Linked DNA regions of Homo sapiens: region 1 is linked to region 2. Evidence: promoter capture Hi-C in human tissues and cell types (Jung and others, 2019). All regions are on one chromosome and are shown on one strand. Each heading gives the region's core, a stretch centred on a gene start or on the middle of the fragment in contact. The rest is flanking DNA. Distances are from core to core; before and after follow the strand shown.

Region 1 (3,849 bases), core at 350-2,849, 520 kb before region 2:
GTGTTAGTGAGTTCTTAAATGATCTGATGGTTTTATAAGGGGCTTCCCCCTTCGCTGGGCACTCATTCTTCTCTCTCCTGCCACTTGTGAAAAAAGATGTGTTTGCTTCCCCTTCTGCCATGATTGTAAGTTTTCTGAGGCCTCCCCAGCCATGCGGAACTATGAGTCAATTAAACTTCTTTCCTTTATAAATTACCCAGTCTCGGGTATGGCCTTATAGTGAGAACAGACTAATACAGTAACAACCTTAGAGTCATCATTCCTGACTTCTCTCTTTTCTTCACATACATCTTTCCGCCATCACCTGTTTCCAAAATACATCCTCCAGAACTGACCAAATTCACCATCTCTCCTGTTAAATCTAGCATGAGCTATCATTATCCCACCATTATCCCTTACCAAGACCACAAGTACAGAGACTTCTGCTTCCACCTTTACATGCCTATTGTCCATTCCCCACAAGGCCCCACAAAGCTTCCAGAGATCTTTCCAACCACTAAGTCAGATGATCTCACAGCTCCACTCTAATCTCCACAACCTCTAAAAGAAAATCCAAACTCCTATGCTATTTGCTATACTTCTACACTGTTATATTTTACTTACTTACTGTGCCTTACTATACCGTGGACCCTGCCTTTCCCTGCACCAAGCCTGTGCCCATGACAGAGCATCTGGGGCACCTCTACACTGAAGAAATCTTTGCAGGCTGTCCTGACTCTAATGTCACCCCTCCTTTTGACTCCAAAGCCAGAGCTGTCTAGCACCCATCCTCATCATGTCCAGCATACTAAATAAAGTAACATTGATCCAAATATCAATCTTTTCTGCTCCACTAGGAACCTCAGTTCCGTGATGTCAGGGGTTTGATTTACTTCAATGCAGTATCTCCAGAGCCTACATCAATATCAAGTACACAGTAAGTATACAATCAATTGATAACTGTTTATAAAATAAATTTAAACAGTGCTATCAGAAAGTCATGATAAAATCTCTTATATGAAAATGTCATAAATGGAGGAATCAAGTACCAAAATGCTTTTTGTCTTTAAACATTGTTAGACAATGTTTTAGCTGAAGCATATTGACCTTCCCTGAGTTCCTATGAGAATAATAACCATAATTCGGTTACTACTCAAAGATCTAAAGGCGCCTATATAGTAACAATTACACTCATCCATGATGCTGCAGAAAATATGTATTATTTTATTTCAGCAGGCTCTTGTTTCCAAAACTGAATAGCCCCAATTACTCTACTTTTTTAAACAGATTTTTGGTCTCTGCTCCCAATTACAGCATACTCTTCCCCGCTGGCAAATATGCTGCTTCTTGCCTATATAAACTAAACGGATAAAACATTAGAAAAATAGTTAAAATGATGAAGAAACATAGTTTTTAGTGAAGATCTGAAAAACCTTTACATTGCACAGTGTGTGATCTTACAGCAACACAGTAATGTCTACTTTAACTGCTCTGTAACAATGCAGGGAAGCTTTCAAATAAATAAAAGCCACTTCCACTCCCCCACAGGAGAACACGAATGTTGCTGCTCTACTGCCCAATACTTAACAGACTGAAAATCTTGATTATGAGCACTTATTTCCTAAAATTGTAAAACTGTGTCATGTGGAAGTCTTAACTGACTGCTCTCTATTATTCCCAGGGTATAAAATTAAAGGAAAATAATTTATCTAAAGGAGATATATTTTTCCCAGAAATTGTAGTATTATAAAGCAGTTTAAGTTGTTGGGTTTATCTGTACCTCTATTTTTGTTATTATGTATGTGGTATCCTGATCTTGTTCTAAAAAAGAACTTAAATTAGTTTAAGGTGATGTTTTCCATTAATATGACTTCAACACAAGCATAAGATAAACATCTCACAGGCTCCGCCCTGTAGGTTCATGCCAACAAACACATCTGTGTAGGCTCCAAAATAGACATTCTAAGGTGTAAATAGACTCAACTATACCCTTGAACTTATTATTTATAACCAAAATTACTTCTGCAGCTGCAGAAAGTTGACAGTTCTGAAACTGGCTGATGGGTGTATGGAACTTCATTAGTATTTTTATACCTTTTCTTTTTTTTCTTTTCTTTTTTTTTTTTTTTGAGATGTAGTCTCATTCTGTTGCCCAGGCTGGAGTGCGGTGGTGCGATTTCTGCTCACTGCAACCTCTGCCTCCCAGGTTCAAGCGACTCTCCTACCTCAGCTTCCACAGCAGCTGGGATTATAAGCGTTTGCCAACACGCCCCGCTAATTTTTGTATTTTTAGTAGAGATGGGGTTTCACCACGTTGGCCAGGCTAGTGTTGAACTCCTGACCTCAAGTGATCCACCCACCTCGGCCACCCAAAGAGCTGGGATTACAGGCATGAGCCACCACGCCCAGCCTATTTATACTTTTGTCATCCAGAAAATTTCTGTAAGTATAAAAAATCCTTTTTCTATTGCATAGAATTCCTATTATCTAAATAAAATGCATTATATAATCAATATATCTAAATATTACATGTGTGGTTTTATGTGCACAGTGGGAATGTGACATTTGTATTTACATATTAATTAGTTGCATTTCCATTTATGAATTAACCGCACGCAATTAAATAATTGTTAGTACAATTTTTTCTTAGCAAAGTTGTCGTCACAAAATATAAAATGAAAGTTACACACTTTAAAAATTATTCTTGCTCTAATTTGAGCCATCTTCTAAAATCCCAGTGGTTTTGCCCTTTCTAATAAAACTTGACTTAATTTTTAAACACTTAATCTACAATCTACTTTAATTTAAATGACTTTCATTAAAAATTTAATTTTAGAAGTACTCAATCCTCTTGATATTCTTTTCAATTAACTAAATATGGAATTGACATGCTCACAAATTAATTAGTGTTGAAAGAGTAAAGGGGAAATATATGGAAAAAGCATTCCTTTCATAATTAAAACCCGCTGGCATCAAAAATAGCTAGACCTGGAAAAAACAAGACTTTCCCATTATGTCCTAGTTGGTGTTTATATATTATCCATCTTCCTAAGGTCCTTTATTTTATATCCCACTTAAGGTAAAATCATTTTTGTTCTTTAATATGAAGCCCAGATAAACATAAATATAGTTGCTGTATTACTGTACAACAGAAGTGATGAGATTTCTATATGGGCAGATCTCATAAAAACAAATATAGTATAAACTGTGTTTCTCTGAAAAAGGTAGTCTACTTAATGCAATAAAATATTCAAACAAAGATATACAACATACTAAAATAATGGACCTAGTAATTCTTTAAATGATTAATTTAAAAGGTTCTGGTTTCTAATATATCTGAATGCTAAGTAGTAGGTTTTTATTTGCCAAGATGGCAAATATTGCCCCTATTGATATATTCACCAAGTGGCATTTACTACTTTTGGTGAGAAGTGAGAGAGGAAGGGAGGGAAGTGGAGGGGGATGGGGAGAGACAGAGAAAAAAAAGGGGAGGAGGAAGAAGAAAGAGACAGAGACAGACCCTGGGGTGGAAATGGAAGAATATAACTATGACAGAAATGTCAAAATATTATTCTCTTACTGGATACAATTGAATTCAACTTTGTAAAAGTAAAACTTAATTAAGTATATATTATTAGTGTAAGTTTAAGCTCCTTAGTATAGGACCTAGATGAAGCAGACTTTTCATGAATAAGATTCCTTTAAGCCTACTTGTTGACTACAGTAAGTGATCTATAAAATTCTAGCATTCTAGGTAGGAGAAATAAGTCCTGGTGTTCTATAGCACTATAGGGTAATATCATTAACAACAATTTGTGGTGTATTTTCAAATAGCTCAAAGAGTGGATTTCAAATGCTATAACACAAAGA
Region 2 (3,667 bases), core at 292-2,791:
AACGACAACAACAAAAATTTAAGTAAAACTTTAAAAAGACCATCCAACTTCATCTGTCACGATGGTTCACAGAATACCCATAACACGATAAAGCCCTTAGAGTTAATTTAATTTAATTTTTTTTTGAGACGGAGTCTGGCTCTTTCACCTAGGCTGGAGTGCAGTGGTGCGATCTCAGCTCACTGCAACCTCCACCTCCGGGTTCAAGTGATTCTCCTACCTAAGCCTCCTGAGTAGCTGGGATTACAGGAGTGGGCCACAACGCCCAGCTAATTTTTGTATTTTTAGTAGAGATGGGGTTTCACAATGTTGGCCAGGCTGGTCTTGAACTCCTGACCTCAGGTGATCCATCCGCCTCAGCCTCCCAGAGTGCTGGGATTACAGGCTTGAGCCACCACGCCCAGCCCTTAATTTTAGACAACGCAGAAAAACTGGCTCCAGATACACTTGGGTGACTTGGTCAACATATGAATGTTAACCATGATGTGACAGATCAGACTTCAATTTCTTTAGACTGAACTAGAATGGCTCCGAAGACGAAAGTCAGGTCAGGACCAGGGAGAAAAACTGGGCAAATACGATTTTTTTTTTTCCATTTCCAACAGAGGTTTGAAGATTAGAACCAGGATTTGGGAAGCCTCAGTTCAGGAGTCCACCGAGGTGTGTGTGTGTTGACAGGTGGTGGTGATGCCGAGGGCGTGTTGACAAGTTTTCCCCGCCCTTGACCTTTAGCCTAGATATTAATTCTACCAACTGGGGCAACCCCAGAGGGAGGAAGCCAGGGTCCCCCAACAGGCTGACAGCGCGTGACCTTTGCCCTAGATAGCCTGAGAAAGCTGATGAGAGAAGGGGCGAGAGGTGCCTACAGCCCCCAGGACCGGCCTTGTCCCTTTTGCCCTAACTCCTCCACTTATCCCCACCGCCCGTTTCCTCTCACCCAGGCAGGACAGCTTGGCTAGCGGCACCAGCATGTTCAAAGTCACCAGGACTCTCGGTCGGACACAACAGGAGGACTGTCCGCTGCTCGCGGCGGGCGCTGGACCTCTAGGCCGCGGGGGGCGCCATCACCTGCCGGAAAGCAAGAACTCTGCTGCAGTTCGCCTCCCCGCTCTGCCGACCGCTCTTGCTTCACGGCGTTCCCACCTCCTTCTCGCTCTGCGCCGGCGCCATGGATGACGCAACGGCCAGCCGAGGCTTCCGGGTCATGTACCAAACCAGGGAAAGATAAGGGACTCCAAGTCCCAGCCGGGGAGCGGTGAAACAGCCACAGCGCGGCCAGAGGGGTCCGCGAATCCCACAGCACGACGCACGCGCAGTGAAAGGCAGTAGAAGGCGGGGCGACGCACACGGCTTCCTGGGAGGTGTAGTTTTCTCTACGAGTGCCCTTCGAGATCGATTGGAGGCTCGCGCAGGAGCCGTGAGTTGCCTAAGGTGAATTGACTCATATGATTGGCTGTCCCGAAAAATGAAACGTCTTTGTGGTCCGGGGCTGAGACCCACGAGGAGACTGGGCGGGATTTCTGGCGTTAGGAGGCGGGGCCTTTCGGCTTTGGGCGCGAGTGGTTAAAAGACAGTTGGTGTCGGTTCGGCTTCTCGGGTCGGATTCCGCGGTCCCAACCCTTCCCCATGGCCGACCCTGAGGAGTTGCAGGTTTCTTCGCCGCCCCCGCCGCCTCCCTCTTCTCCCTCCTCTTCAGACGCCTCTGCAGCATCTTCCCCGGGCGGCCCAGTGAGTTTGGGCTGGCCAGTTCCGAGCAGGAGCAGCGGCCCAACGGTGGACCAGCTGGAGGAAGTGGAGCTGCAGATCGGAGACGTGAGTGTGGTGTCGGGACCGCGTCCCCCCTCGGCGCCTCTGGGAAGACCGGCGGCGGCGGGGCTCGCGAGGCTAGGGAATCGGTCCCCCAACCCCCATGACCCGGGACGACCGGCCCTTCTGCGCCCCAGAGCGTGCGGGCGGGAAGCGGGGGGGATGCCAGCAGCTAAAGTGCCACCCCTCTCTGAGGGTTCCCCCTTTAGATTTAGTGGTGAGGAGTCTTAAGGGGTTTTCCTTCCACCCGCCCCACCCCTCACTGGTTTCTTTTTGTCTCGCCTTCTGGTTTCAATCATCCGCAGTAACCCGAAGCCACGCAGCTCTGCGCTGCCTGTTGCTGGCTCTCTGCCTCCTCCTTTCCCATCGGAGAATAGTTTTCATTGCATGGGTTTCGGAGAATAGTTTTCACTGCATGAGTTTGCTGGCTTTCTGTGGGTACTTGAGATCAGGCTGTGATTTCTTTCCATGGGACTTAGAGCCTGCTGTTCTAGTTGGCCACCTGCCCAGGGACAGCTGATAATGCCATTGTCTGCCCCAGGCCTGCTTAGCGCTGGACCCAGCTTGAAGGGTTTAGGTCACGTGGATTGGCTTCTTTGACGGTTTAGTTCAGGACTCCTCCCTTTGTATGATTGCTAGAATGCATACTTAGGATAGTTTCTGTTAAATCTCGAATCCCCAGAAACTAGCACCCCACCTCCCAACCGTAACTCACACACCACTGGAGGGGAGAAGACAGGGAAGGGGAGTTTTATGTTCTCTTGAGTGGGTCAAGTGGAATGAGGTATGTAGAGTGTAACCTGGGAGAGTTCTGTGGCCTGACCTTTCCTGCAGATTGGAAACTAGGGGATGAACTAGATTATCTCATTGCTCCGCAAGTATTTTTTTTTAAGGATGACTAGAGTGCTTAACCAGCTTTTATTTTTGCAGAACAAACTGATTGCAAGTAAATATGTAGAATGAAGTGCTAATGTGTTATTGAGGAACACTGTTTTATTTTATATCATTGGTGAAGAAAACGTTTGGCTGAAAAGTGAATTTTCCACCAGGAGCTGAGTGTTTTCTGCATTTGTGTGTGATTTTTTAATGTTATTTGTCAGAGCTCAGAGTTTCTGTTCTTTGATCTATACATTTTCATTGTTTAAAGTGTTCACAGGTCAATGCCCATGTTACCCAAATAGCAGTAAGAATTATTTATGATGAAATCTCTCAGATATATCTGGCGCTTAGTGTCAAGGGGTCCAAGTCATCTTGTTGAGCTGAGACTCTAGTGTATTTTCATAGAAAACAGCAATCCTGGGCCAAGCACGGTGGCTCACGCCTGTAATCCCAGCACTTTGGGAGGCTGAGGCAGGCGGATCACCTGAGGTCAGGAGTTCGAGACCAGCGTGACCAACATGGAGAAACCCTGTTTCTACTAAAAATACAAAATTAGCTGTGCGTGGTGGCGCATGACTGTAATCCCAGCTACTAAGGAGGCTGAGGCAGGAGAATCACTTGAACCCGGGAGGCGGAGGTTGCAGTGAACCAAGATCGCGCCATTGCACTCCAGCCTGGGAAACGAGCGAAACTCCGTCTCAAAAAAAAAAAAAAAAAAAGAAAACAACTATACTGATTTGTCATATCTCAGACATAATGGATATTTTTCTAGCAGACCTGTTTCTTCAAAGTCTACTCAATATTAAAGAATTTCTTAGGTTCCGTGAAAGAGCCAGTGCTGTAGTTTGAAAACTGATTACTTTGAAAGAAAATAACATGGGCATTGGATTCAAAGCCTTAAGCTATTTTCAGCCTGCTTATAAAATGAGATGAGAATTTTAAAAATAAAATTATGTTTGACTTTTTTTTTTTAGGCAGCCTT

What was found. The method cuts DNA at HindIII sites, captures the fragments that hold promoters and counts their contacts. A contact is called where the count stands out against the background at its distance.
Region 1: a fragment that was not itself captured here is called in contact with the fragment with the promoter of C4orf46 in region 2 in 1 of the 25 tissues and cell types used here (lymphoblastoid cells).

Annotation. Positions count from the first base shown.
Region 1 is chr4:159,186,923-159,190,771 of GRCh38, reverse strand. The region is part of intron 2 of RAPGEF2 (Rap guanine nucleotide exchange factor 2); the gene reads right to left. Among named protein-coding and RNA genes, the nearest start is that of MIR3688-1, 60 kb to the right of the region's middle. The HindIII fragment of the contact is 3,893 bases long and covers 1-3,545 here.
Region 2 is chr4:158,669,761-158,673,427 of GRCh38, reverse strand. C4orf46 (chromosome 4 open reading frame 46) reads left to right here and starts at 1,541. Exons shown (of 2, transcript NM_001008393.4): 1 at 1,541-1,812; 2 at 3,660-3,667. The coding sequence starts at 1,627. ETFDH (electron transfer flavoprotein dehydrogenase) reads right to left here and starts at 1,132. Exons shown (of 13, transcript NM_004453.4): 1 at 938-1,132. The coding sequence starts at 971. RefSeq lists enhancers at 784-1,285, 887-1,446, 1,289-1,925, 1,926-2,562 and a silencer at 1,867-1,936. The HindIII fragment of the contact is 11,975 bases long and covers 1-3,667 here.